3 separate regions of the Homo sapiens genome follow, and regions 2 and 3 are each linked to region 1. The links are contacts of gene promoters, found by promoter capture Hi-C in human tissues and cell types (Jung and others, 2019). All regions are on one chromosome and are shown on one strand. The core of a region is centred on a gene start or on the middle of the fragment in contact, and the rest is flanking DNA. Distances in the headings are between cores, read along the strand shown. Region 1 holds the start of ISL1 (ISL LIM homeobox 1). Region 2 holds the start of ITGA1 (integrin subunit alpha 1). Region 3 has its middle 210 kb from the start of ITGA1.

What was found. The method cuts DNA at HindIII sites, captures the fragments that hold promoters and counts their contacts. A contact is called where the count stands out against the background at its distance.
Region 2: the fragment with the promoter of ITGA1 here is called in contact with the fragment with the promoter of ISL1 in region 1 in 1 of the 25 tissues and cell types used here (pancreas).
Region 3: a contact is called between a fragment that was not itself captured here and the fragment with the promoter of ISL1 in region 1, in 1 of the 25 tissues and cell types used here (H1 embryonic stem cells).

What each region holds. Positions count from the first base shown.
Region 1 is chr5:51,381,407-51,385,796 of GRCh38, forward strand. ISL1 (ISL LIM homeobox 1) reads left to right here and starts at 2,042. Exons shown (of 6, transcript NM_002202.3): 1 at 2,042-2,293; 2 at 3,135-3,324. The coding sequence starts at 2,266. ISL1-DT (ISL1 divergent transcript) reads right to left here and starts at 1,926. Exons shown (of 2, transcript NR_046243.1): 1 at 1,568-1,926. RefSeq lists enhancers at 3,751-4,279, 4,096-4,279. The HindIII fragment of the contact is 8,696 bases long and covers 276-4,390 here.
Region 2 is chr5:52,785,913-52,790,302 of GRCh38, forward strand. ITGA1 (integrin subunit alpha 1) reads left to right here and starts at 2,004. Exons shown (of 29, transcript NM_181501.2): 1 at 2,004-2,502. The coding sequence starts at 2,442. PELO (pelota mRNA surveillance and ribosome rescue factor) reads left to right here and starts at 2,004. Exons shown (of 3, transcript NM_015946.5): 1 at 2,004-2,502. The region is part of intron 1 of PELO-AS1 (PELO antisense RNA 1); the gene reads right to left. RefSeq lists an enhancer at 1,692-1,971. The HindIII fragment of the contact is 9,565 bases long and covers 1-4,390 here.
Region 3 is chr5:52,578,383-52,582,772 of GRCh38, forward strand. It overlaps the pseudogene SLC60A2P1. Among named protein-coding and RNA genes, the nearest start is that of ITGA1, 210 kb to the right of the region's middle. The HindIII fragment of the contact is 3,028 bases long and covers 738-3,765 here.

The sequences.
Region 1 (4,390 bases), core at 792-3,291:
GTGGCTTCTGGTGTTTAATTCCATCTTATAAAAGTGGCATGATGGAATATGACTAGGTAAAACTCTATTTTCTGGCATTGTGGTGGTATCTTTTTTTTTTTTTTTTTTTACTAGGGTCAACATGTTTATCTCTATGGGAAACACACACAAATACTAGGAAGATTTGCTTCGTATTGAGATTAACAGCATCAGCTTTGCAAAAGCAGCCTGACAAAAGGCTCCATACATCTAATACCAGAGACTAGAAACAGACCAAAAAAAAAAAAAAAAAAAAACACACACCACACAACTGGTAAACTTATCAACCTAGGTCTATCCAACTTTCGCTTTCATACACGCGCTCTAAAACAACTTATAATAAAAATGGAAGGGAAGACAGATCCAATTTGAAATCCTCCTTGAGAAAAAACAAATCAAAACTAGTTCCTGGGGAAGAAAGCCTCAGCTAGGTCAGGAGGAAACTTACGCATCTTTGATTCCCTTTCCGCTTTGGAGAGGCATTACCCGTTCAAGCCCAGCCAATGCGGCCGGCCAGGATTTACAGCTCTTATCAAGGGTTAGATTTTGCGAAAGATATAAAGAAAGGAGTTTCCTAACACACCGGGTCTTCTCACAGCAACAAGACACCGAAATTAAGCCTTCTATGGTTTGTGTCTGTAGGACTTTTTAGATAAAACTGGCAGCCCCATTAGATAAGAAATGGCTTTTTAGAAGCTTTGGGGGAAGCGCGGGGGTTCTTCGTGGCCTTCCTGTGACTGTCTTTGGGAGACCGTAACAGATGATGGGAACATGTAAGAATGATTGAAGAAGGTTACCGGCGAGTTGCACCTAACAGTCTTCTCTCTCCAAGTAGTTTCTCGAGAGAAAATTATATATTAACGCCTGGGGACGTGAAATAGGTCTTTCACTGTTCTGTAATAAATCCCTCCCTACTCGCGCCCTTAGACTAATGCATTTTTAAAAAATCTCCACAAAGTCATGGAGACTTGTCCTTATAATTACCAAAATACCACAGCTAGTTGCACAAGTTTGCTTAAAAACAAAGGGCAGGAGACCAGCAGTGAGAAGAATTGAACAGTATATAAAAATCTTACAAACTTTAGACTACTGAAAGATCATTTCGCTCTTTGGCTTCGGGTTAGTGAGCTTCAATTCTAGAGTTAAACTGAGAAGCAGACCTCGCGGGTCTGAAAGACAAAAAGTCAGTCCGCGGAGTCAACTTCGGTTTACCGGTGCGTTCCAACCTGATTGTCCCAACAGCAAGAAGCGCCCCTTTCCTCCCACCCAACGTTTTTAGATATCTGAGGTTGGGGGAGACGGAGTAATGGTGTAGCAGTCAGGAAACAGTTCCTCTGGGTTTAATCATCCCATTCCCGATTCTTCTTCCCCTAGCGCGCCGAGCGCAGCCAGTTCTGGAGGAACTAGCCCTCCGGAGCAGCCAAGGCAGGCCAGGCCCCGGGGATGTGCACCACGGCGTGGGGACCAAACCAAGCTGAACGGCCTGCTCCAAGTTCCCCCCTTTTCCTAGAGCCCGGGAGGGACCTCGTCAACAGGTAGACCTACCCACCAGCCACTCGCCACCGGCGGCAGAAAGTGAGCCCCGCGCGCAACGCGGCCAGCCGGACTGCGGGGACCCCAGGAGCGCAGGGCGGAGGAGCAGCGCCACAGGAGGCGAGGGCGCAGGCGGCGCGGCCGGGAAGGAACGCGGGAGGGGACAGAAGGAAGAGGAAGAGGAGGAGAGGGAGGCCAGAGCCAGAACAGCCCGGCAGCCCGAGCTTCGGGGGAGAACGGCCTGAGCCCCGAGCAAGTTGCCTCGGGAGCCCTAATCCTCTCCCGCTGGCTCGCCGAGCGGTCAGTGGCGCTCAGCGGCGGCGAGGCTGAAATATGATAATCAGAACAGCTGCGCCGCGCGCCCTGCAGCCAATGGGCGCGGCGCTCGCCTGACGTCCCCGCGCGCTGCGTCAGACCAATGGCGATGGAGCTGAGTTGGAGCAGAGAAGTTTGAGTAAGAGATAAGGAAGAGAGGTGCCCGAGCCGCGCCGAGTCTGCCGCCGCCGCAGCGCCTCCGCTCCGCCAACTCCGCCGGCTTAAATTGGACTCCTAGATCCGCGAGGGCGCGGCGCAGCCGAGCAGCGGCTCTTTCAGCATTGGCAACCCCAGGGGCCAATATTTCCCACTTAGCCACAGCTCCAGCATCCTCTCTGTGGGCTGTTCACCAACTGTACAACCACCATTTCACTGTGGACATTACTCCCTCTTACAGATATGGGAGACATGGGAGATCCACCAAAAAGTAAGAGGCTATTTTACCTTGTGGGGCTCGGTGTGCTGTTCTTGTGCGGGGTTCTCTCTCAGGCACAGGCTGAGGTGCCAAGGGCTCTTTGGAGTTGGAGTCATTGCCTGGAGAAAGAGAAAAGGTGGCTTTTTCTTGTTGCCGCCACGCCTGCATGCTTACTGTCGGTTCTTATCTTCGGGAAACTGATTGTACCTTGTGTGTGAATTCGCCTGTGTGCCCTCCAAAGCTCTAGCTTTCTGGTGCTAAGCGGTGATTTCCTCCTGGGGAATCCTGAGCTCTCCGAGAAGGTTATTATGTTGCAAAGGTCTGCCTGCACAGTCAATGCCCAGAGATGTGAATTAGCATTAGACTTGCAAAAGAGAACGAGTGACAACTGTATTTATGCCTGCTCTTGCTAACAATATCCAGTCCTGTGTGCTATTTAAGAGCGCGCTTCACGGAAAATATAGACATCCCTGCGTTCACTTAACGCTTCTAGTCAAAACCTTTTCTTTGACTTGACTTATCCATAATCTTTCCCAATGATTATAGCAAAGAGGAAGGGGGGGGGGAGAAATACAAAATGAGCGGGTTTGATTGCGTGCTAGGCGTACAAATGTAGACTATTCCAATCTGCATTTTACATATATTCCACCTCCTTTTAAAAATGAGTCAAGGTTTTGATGGCACATTTCAATTACCATCCCAAAGTGCAATGCTCTAAAAAAAAAAAAAAAGAAAGAAAGAAAGAAAGAAAAAAACCTCCCAGAGTACGCCCTATAAGAGAACGACACTAAAAGTGTGTTTATCTCTGTAGGAAGTAAACGGTTAGTCAATCATGTATTTATTTTCATTTCAGAAAAACGTCTGATTTCCCTATGTGTTGGTTGCGGCAATCAGATTCACGATCAGTATATTCTGAGGGTTTCTCCGGATTTGGAATGGCATGCGGCATGTTTGAAATGTGCGGAGTGTAATCAGTATTTGGACGAGAGCTGTACATGCTTTGTTAGGGATGGGAAAACCTACTGTAAAAGAGATTATATCAGGTATGGCATTTACACTTCTTTCTTAATTTTGTGGGATTTCCCTGAATCTCCCCACTCTTTATGTATTATTTGGTGTGGCTTTGTCTTTTTGTGAAGTTTGCCTCAGTGTAGTCATACAAGCCAAAGTTACCCTGTACATGTGTTAAAAAAATCAAGCTATGCTGTTCATTTCATTCTTTAGTTGAGAAAAACAAAAACCCTTAACAGTGGTATTCATAATTCCGGGGTATTGAGGCTTGTTTAATTACTCTTGGAGTTTATGATGCACAAATTATTTTCCTCTTTCACCCTCCCCCTTACAAAACAAAATTTTAAAAAGATGGAGAAGTTTGGATTTTTAGCTTTAAAATAGGGTTGATTTTTGTTGTATAGTGCAGTGTTCTGTTTGTTTTAGTCCTTTTTAAAATTAGTAGCTTACAAATTCTTTGGTGGCATCAATGCAATAGGTGAAATAAAAGTTTGACCGAAGCATGTTTAGAGATGTACTTTGAAAGAGCGAGTACAGGTATTGCTCCTTTTATTTTTGGGGTAAGACCTCCTTCTGAGAAAAATTTAAAACCAACCTAAATATTCCTTGGAAAAAACACCGGAAACTTAATCTTTTTAAATATTAACCCTTTGGTGACATCTAACTGTCTCTTCTTTCTTATCTTATCTGAGCTGATGAATTAGAGCAGATCAAATTGCCCATCATCTGTCTACGAACAATTGGTATATTTAGATAATTGAACAGCTTCCTTTCTCACATTAAAATCTGGTAACTGATAAAATGAGCGAATTGTCCAAATTGACAAGACTGAAACAACATAGGAACTTTCTGAGTTTGGTTTTGTTGTTTTGGAGAGTTTTTGTTTTTTTTTTCCTCCAATTTATTCTGCAACACGTTTTGCTAATCTCAAGTTTCCTCTGACTTGTGTGTATGTATCAGAAACTTTGTTTTCTGCCTTAGAAAGCCAGTAGTCTCTAAAGAAAATTGTATTCATTTTATTAACAAACAGAAGAGACATCAGCATCATTATTATGTTAAATAATAGCAAAATATCACTTTTTAAATGTCCGGTGGCTA
Region 2 (4,390 bases), core at 754-3,253, 1.4 Mb after region 1:
GTATTTGGGTTTATTGAAGTTCAGAAAATAAGCACTGATTCTAAAATTAATTCTCTAACCATAGTTATCTCTCAGTCTCTACATTTGTATTGACTAGACATATAAAAGATTCATAAATATGTAAACATGTAAACATAAAATTTGTAACTTGTGAAAATTAATTGTAACAATATCACTGTTAGTGATGGTTATCACCAATAATTTGTAAGTCCTAGAGGAAATAAAAATATTAAAATTGAAATTATATATTAGCCCCCAGAAGAAAGGTAAATTTCCCAGTAATTGTAAACTTGAACATATTATATGTTAACCCTACTTTATTTCAATATTTTACAATTTCTTTTTGTTTTTTCTAATGAAATATATTGCAATTTGCTAAAATGCCATATATGTATTTGCATATGTATGTATATGCTGTACATATATATGTACACATACATACATACACATGATTGTGTATATATAGACACACTATTATATGTTTTTGAAAACTAAGCAATTTGGAGAAATATCATTGGGAAAGTACTTACTATGATTTTTAAATGTCTACGAATTAATCAATATCTATTGGTTACTGTTCAAAGCACAGAGAGTCATACTGAGAGGCATAAGACATAACTGATACTACCAACAGGGAAACGAGATATACACAGGAAATGAATTCCTTGGCAGGGTATGAGAGCATTGAACACAAACAAAGGAACTTAAGTAAAGTCCAATGGGATTGAACTGTGACCCAACATAATACAATTTTTCTAGAGACTCATTTGTGTAAATTTGAAGACAGAACTGAGAAATGACATTATAAAAACTAAAAACGGGAGAACGAGATTTTTAATGTATTTACTAAATAGTGAATCAGTTCAGATACATAATAGAAAAGGAATTTCTTGATTAATGGGTCAACATACTGAGATCTGATGGCCTTCAACCTCCTTGGGTCTGCCCACCCCATTTTTGACGCTCCTTAAACTTCTTCAACTTTTGTCTTCTCCAGCTTTTAGTTGCTGTGATCCTCTATCTGGCAATGTATCCAGTGAACCCTGTGGGCTTCTTCCTTCCTGTCCCTCGTGTTACCTGTTCTGTGCTACCTGTGTTGCGTTCTGCTCAACGAACCCTCCTTTGGGTGGCACTCTTGTCCTGCCTAGCCCTAGTTCTGCTAGAGATGCTCAATTAGTTGTTGAGTTGAAGAATTGAATTGAACTGTTTCCCTCAGATTCCTCTAAACACAAATCCACTTATTCTTTCTGTCTTTGAAATTCTCAAAACCGCTAAGACACAGCTATTTTGAAAATAGCCAGCATTGGTTGAAGCTAGGGTGAATATGGCTTTTGACTCAGAGAGGTTGTTCAACTCACCAGGAAAGGGAAGCATTGCAAGTTCCTAAGCACTTCTGGACTCTTAATGCATTTTCACTCGTGAAAGTTTCAAGCAAGAAAAAAATAAAGTAGTGCCCCGAGTTCTTTATTAGATTCAATTACCAGCGTACAAACATCCTAATTCACTTAAACAAAATAGCCCACACACATTCCATTTCCAAGGAGGCTGCTTTTCTTCCTCTCTTCCCTTCTCGCTCTCCCTCTTACTGTTTTTCCTCCGTCTTGCTTCTCCTTTTCTCCCCTTATCCTAGTTATCTCAAAGAAAAGCTTATCTGCAACCACCCTTTAACCACGAATTACCATAAACGAAGCAACCCCCCCACCCCCCCATAAGCGAAAGCAAAGCCCTCAGTGGAGCCTGTCGGGGTGGTGGGGACGCCCCCTTTCGTGCAAAACGACTTCACGGTGAATTTCAAGTGTCCGCAGGGGATGGAAGGGGGGATTCCAGATCCTCGCATTTTCACAGACGGCCTAATCCCTCTGCGCAATGGACCCGGGAAAGCTGCCTCCCGTTAAGGGCGCCCAGGCACTGTCAAAGCGCCCTCCCTGCCCGGGCCGGGAGAAGTAAGGGGTGTGAAGGCGGAGCCACTGGGCTGGCAACACCCTCCCGAAGGTCCAGCCCTTACCCGCCTTCCTACCACCTTAGGGGATTTGGCCCGGAGAACGAGATCACCCTCTCAATGAAAGGCAGATGTCCCTTTAAGGTTTGCTTCTACAGCCCGTGGACTTTAGCCTAAACACGGACCCGCGAAGCTGGCTTTATTTGTCCATGTCTCGGACAGAGCCTGGGAAGCTGCCAGTGAGATTTCAGAGACCAAGAGCGCGAAGGGGCGGGCGATGTGGCAATCCGTCTGGGATGTGAAAAGCGTGGAGCGCATTTAGAGGAATTCGACGAAAACACAGGAAATCACTCCTCTCCCGCTCCTGGGCGCCGCTGCCACTGGGGCAGAGGACTGGGAACCGCGGCAGCGGGATAAGTGGCCCAGCCAGAGAGCGCAGCTCCCGCGCCCGGTCCTGCCCTGCGAACCAGCGCGGCCCCCTGGCGCTGAGGCTGCTCCGGCCATGGCCCCTCGGCCCCGCGCCCGCCCAGGGGTCGCTGTCGCCTGCTGCTGGCTCCTCACTGGTGAGCGACTCGCTTTTCTCTGAGCATCTCCTGCTCGCGGGCTTGGGGCTTGGAGCGGGGAGGGAGGTCCTCAGAGCCATGGGCCAGATAGGAAGAGAGAGCGCCCATCCACTTTCGGGCATTCCAGGTACTCAGGCCAGGCTACGGGGCAGGCAGGAGTTTCGCGTTCTGGTTTTGATATGAATTAGTTTTCGTGTCTCTCCAAAGTCCTTCACCCTAGGAGTAGGAGTGAGGCAGCACTGAAAACCTTAGAAGGTAGAATTCACTTTTAAAATTAAAGTTGTTTTTACAATACACATTGTATATTAGGACTTTGCTGAATATTTCCTCCCCTCCACCCTTTTTTATGGCATGGGATGGGAGGGTGATGCTTATAGGGCGCCTGATACATATGCAAAATTCCTACCCTCGGGTTGTTCCAGAGTGGACATTATTGAATTTTCTTGCTGTCTACTATTTAGGCTTTTTTCCCATGCAGAACAAGAAAAGGCAGGGATGCAAGACGAAACTGCCACTTGTTCCAAAATGATGTTTCTATGTCAGCACCCAAGAGGAGGGATATTTTGAAACGTAGAAAGGAATGGTGAACATTTTCTCTGTAAATATCACAGGGCAGTCTACTTTTAAGATGCAAAATATAGTATTGTTATTTGTACATAAATGTGTATTTTTAAGGAGGGGACTTAAAAACATAGTGGAAATGCAAAGTTGTATCCAATTTAGAAAAAGCTTGAAATATAGCATTTTGTAAGATTTTCCCAATAATGAACTCATGGTCAGATCTTTTTTACCAGTTACTGATTGGGGTGGGGGAAAGTTGAAATGGTGAAAAATGGAAGAAGGTGGGGGGAAAGTGTATCGATAGAATCTCTGTGTGAAAGAAAATCACCTTATTAATGGGTTAATTAACAGCTGGCTTTAACATATCATTGATATTCAATTGTTCAGTGTTTTTACTGCTGGCATGGTTATTAGTACTAGTTAATTTAGCATTTTTACCACTAAAAACAGGGTAGAGCCAGCTAGTTTAGACCTGCCTTAGATGGCCAAGCATTGTTAAGTTTTATGAAGATGATTTAGAAGTTGATTATCAGCAAGCAGAGCTTTTTTCAGAAGGGAGGTAATGTAAAGAGAGTTAATAATTAGCTACTGGCTTTTCATCCAAACATTTCCCACTACTCAGGAAATGTCCAATAATCCAAACAGTGGTAACTGCTGAACAGCATTATAGCCGGTGAGTGGTTTAACTTACCAGCTACTGCCACTACTTTTTACACATATTTGACCTATGATTCTTCTCCAACTCAAATTTTTTTAGATTGTATTTTGTTGTTTTTGTGCAAAATCTGAATACAGTAGTTTACTATCCAAGTTGTACTTTTTCATTCTACCAAATAAGCAGTCTCTAGAGTAGAAATGATGAAATGAGGTTTGCGTATCCTCTAAAAAGACAAGAGTGAAACTTGAAGTAACAGAGAAGTTTAACAAGTTACAATTTCATATATATGTTGGTGAAATATACATTGGTGAATCCAGGAAGAGACTTAAAATATTTAGAAACCTTGTGTGCACTATATTTATGCCCATTTCGCAACACATGAGGGATCTGAAATTGGACTGCTTTCCCATCAGTCATTATATTCTGTAGGCTCTTCTTTAGCAATCTCTTTCAGATTTGGAAACTTCTCATCAATTCAGAGTCCGTTTGTAACCTGGGGACTCATCACCATACTTATCCATGCACACTACTGTAGAGCTTATCTTTCTGTCTTCAATTTGAACCCAACTTCCAGTCTACCCTCCTAATACATCATTTTTACTATATCTGTTTTTAGTCAAAAATCTTTGGTGGTTCTTTGTTGCCTTTAAGATAAAATCCAAAATTCTC
Region 3 (4,390 bases), core at 1,002-3,501, 1.2 Mb after region 1:
GTGATATCTTTTGTCTCATTCCTAATATTGATGATCTGTATTTTATCTCTTTTTCTTTCAGCCTTGCTAGTAGTTTATCAATTTTAGTGATTTTAGTGACTAACCAGCTTTTTATTTTTATTGATTTTCTTTGTTATTTTCCTGTTTTAAAATTCATTGATTTCTATTATTATCTTTATTATTTTCAACGTCTTTGGTTCCATTGGCTCTACTTTTTATCATCTCTAGGTGGAAACTTGGTAAGTTTTTTCTTATTTTCTAATGTATTTTTATACATTTTTACGTGGTTAATTATGCAATACCTTTTCTAGTTACATATTCTTTATTCACCTGCATCCAATCTAGAGAGTCTCTTTCACTTGTTTATATTATTTAAAATGCTATATTTTTCATATTTAGGATTACATATTGATTAATTTCAAATGCATATAAACTTATTTAATTTCTACTTGTTTGCGTTCATATTTTCTGTATATAATCTGCTCCGTCTTTAAGAGGGAATTTGTTGCAGGATGTGCAATGAGCTGAACCTCTCTGCCTGCAGGTATCTTTAGGATTTGGTGTTCTTCCTGGAAAGCTCATAACCAATGAATAGGCAACATGGGGCATCTATTGTGTAACCATTTCTGATCATAACAGGACTCCTCTACAGGCAATTTTATGCTAGAATTTCCTATTAGGTTTGCTGAGACATAATACCAGCTATACCTCAGTTTAAGACACTTTCTATACAGTCCTTCTTCCTGCCCCCTCCTCTTTCATAGACCTGTATCTGAAGGTTTGCACTGATTACTATTGCTTACTCTCTCCTTTATCTTACACAAGAATTACCCCTCAATAAGTGACTTATGAAAACAATACCCAGCTTCTCAAAAACAAATGCCTTATTTGCATGCTCTGAGAGATGAAGACCATAAAATATTTCCTAATCAGCCACATGCCAAACACTAGCCTAATAACAAGATCCTATTGTACATGTATGACACCATTTGGTTATTTATGGAAGACTCTGGGAATTATGGAACATTTTACAATTTTTTAGCTTTTGCTATCATTGGATCTAGAAATTTTGATCCCCAAAGCATTTGAAAAGCTGCTAATGCTCTCCTCCGAATGGCCTCATTAGAAGTGGTGATTATTCAAGGATGTCAATGAGTAATCCATCTTCTCTAACTAACAGTTCCTGTTATCCCGGTTTCTGACAAGTGCCTCACAGGGGAGTTGCCAGTATTAACCAAGGAGGACTCAAACACCAAAACGTTTGAGAGGGATTGGTCAGAGACTTCAGCTGTGGCCTCTATCAAAATATCTCTAGATGTACCTATTAGAATGTTTCATTTTATCATTCATTTCAGTCACTTCAAAATGGATTTCATTCAATTTTTCTGCATCTTCCTCTTCATTTCTCTTCCTCATAGTCATTTAGCCCAGACCTGGAGAGCAAAAGTATCTGGACCTCACTCTTTCTGTTTACTTTTCTCTGGTGATTAAGAGGTGAAGTGGCTAATTCATACATCCCAGGAAATAAAACACCAGTGGCTATCAATACGCCCAAACAGATGTATACAGAACTACAGGCAAATCAGGGTATTTTCTTTGGAAAAAATCCAATTTCTACAGAAGTAGCCACTTCTTCTAGGACAGCACTGATTACAAAAAATGCTGCAAATTTCTCATGTGTGATCATGTACTGTGCAATCTAAGAAGCACCACTGGAAAATGTAGTTTCCATCAGGGCCCCATACACTGGAATTACTATACAAAGACAAACCAGGCTCTTGCCAAAAAGCACAAGATATAAAGATGAAGGCAGGCTGCCAATCTTGCTTGACACAATCATGGTTCCAGGATGTAAAATGTAGCAAAAAACATTACCAGTCCCCTGAAGGACATAAAGGTCCCCCAGAAGATGGAGTTCAACCCAGTAGCCTCACTTTATTTCACAATAGCGTGAATGGCTGCACATGAGAAAATGTAGGAGCTATATGTTACCTCAGCTCCAACATAAGAAATGAAGAACAGAAAAAGGAGACAAAAAATGGCATTGTGATATTTAGTTCTTTGAGATGTCTGAGCAGATGCTTTTGCTTTTCCTCACCTTGAGCTTATCTTTAAAAACAGAGCAAAAACAAAGATAGGACCTACAAAAATATAAGTACTGTTCAGAGCATAAGACCACAGTAAACACATAACTTCAGGTCCTCCAAACAGAGATTCTGAGTCAGCGTCAGTGCAGGATGGTGAAAGTCAGACTGCGTGGTTTTCACAGACACTCTCGTACCCAATGCCAGTTTAGCTAGCAGTGGAGCCAAAAAGGCACCCAAGGCAAAACAGAAGTGTAATATGCCTACATATGTGGAGATCCTATGTTCTTCAAACAGCCAAGATAGGGACATCACCACCTGTATCCAGAATGCAAATTGAAGTACCAAAGATAGACATCATGACAATCAGTAATAGAGCTGTCTTGAAAAAATAAACAAGATAAAGACAAACTGTGGTAGCCAACACTGACACTTTCAAAAGTAAAAAAAAAAAAAAAAAAAAAAAAAAATCATGATGTCAAAAAGAACTCCACCAATCACAGAGCCACTCAAAGGTAGGGCCCACAAAAATTAAAGGAAGATGACTAATATTTTGGTTCAAACTTGTGGCAAAATATTGAAATGTGGGTCCCAGTAAAGCAACACTCATTCCCAGCCCTGGGAAGGCAGCCAACAGGATGACGGTGGTGAACCAGCACAGCATGATCTGGGCCTGGCTGCTCCATCAGGAGACTACCACCACCATTGCTAGTATCACCACTGCCTCTAGGCCCTGCAGCTGGGGATCTGGCCCTGCAGAGCTCCAGTTCCAACTACTTGAAATCTTTTATTAATTTTTTAGCTTGCCCGATGACTTGCTTTTTCTAAGCAACTATTATTTTAGTGACTTGAGTTTGTTGGTTGGCATATCATTTTCTCATTTACTGTGATAGTTTCGTCTTAAAGCTTTTCTTCAGCATTATGATTTTTTCTCTCAAGAGAGAATAGCAGGGTTTTTATGGTTTCCACACAATTCCCAAGGGCTCCCATCAGAAAAGTGACTTATATGGTCATGATTACTCTTCCTGGGGGAATACTGAGTTTTTCAAATCATACTGCAGTTGGCTTACTCTAGCTTCTTGTTGAGAGGCTCTCTCTGTCTTCTCCTGGCAGTCCAGGCAGCAACTAAGCAACCATATTAACTGAAGCCCTCTAAATGCTCAAGCTTATTCTTTAAGTCTTTTCTCATAGGAGTGACAGCTCTGATTCAGTCAAAGGCTTCAAGCAATGAAAATAGCTCATGTTCAATATCTTCTCTAGGGTATTTACATGTCCTTCATTTTCCAATGATGAATTTACCACCTCTGGCTGTCGCCACCTTTTCTGAGTTTCTGTCCTGTTGAAATGTCCATCTTTGTTTGGATTTTTTTATTGTACACACTACTATATATATACACACACATACACATGCATATCACTTCTATGTTTGGAAAGGTGTGTGTATATTTACTTTCAGAGTAAACTCATTGTATTATCTCAAATGATAATTTTCACCCAAGGAATTTGAATCAAAAATTTTATACTTTAAGAGATAAGTTATTAGCCAAGTTTAATAAAAATATAAAGGCCTGTTTGAGCAGGTAAGAACTCAGGAAAATGATCTCCAGGTATATTTTGAAGAAAGGAAACACCAAGACACACAAAAAGTAATCTAGGAGAGGAAAGCATTAAAGAACAGCAATGGGAATGCAAAGAAAAGTAATCCCAGTATGAAATAATGGTGCTGTGAAACAACCTTTGAAAGCTAAATCAGAGGACTCTATGTAGAACTTATTCAAGAAGAAATGAAATCCATTAATAAATGGAATAATTATGAATCCAGAGCACTTAAAAATATAATAAGTACTTCCAAAATGGTGAAGTAAGGACCTCAGAAATCCCACTCCAATGAGAGCAATGAAAACTTGTAACAATCTTAGGAGTATTTTTCAGGAAAAACAACTGCATTTCAGTATAAACTACAAGTTTGCGGCATTTTAACTTTCTGCATTACCATTTTCTACTCACCAGCTCCATAGTAGCCTTGAAAACGAGCCATCTAGCGGCCACTGCAGAGGACAGAATGAATTTAGAGGTCCCCTAGAAACCCCATCCCCAGAAAATTGTACTTATTTGACCTGTCTGGTAGCCACTTGGAAAGTCCCATTTTCTTGAAATGTTTTTATTTTCCCTGACTCAGAGTGCATTTAATAAAAAAGCTTATGGCAAGGGAATTTGGTCAAAATGATCAGTGGCAATTGTTTAATATCTCTTCTGCCTAGGGCAGTAATACCAGTTAAGGCAAACAGCAGACTGGCCAAAAACCT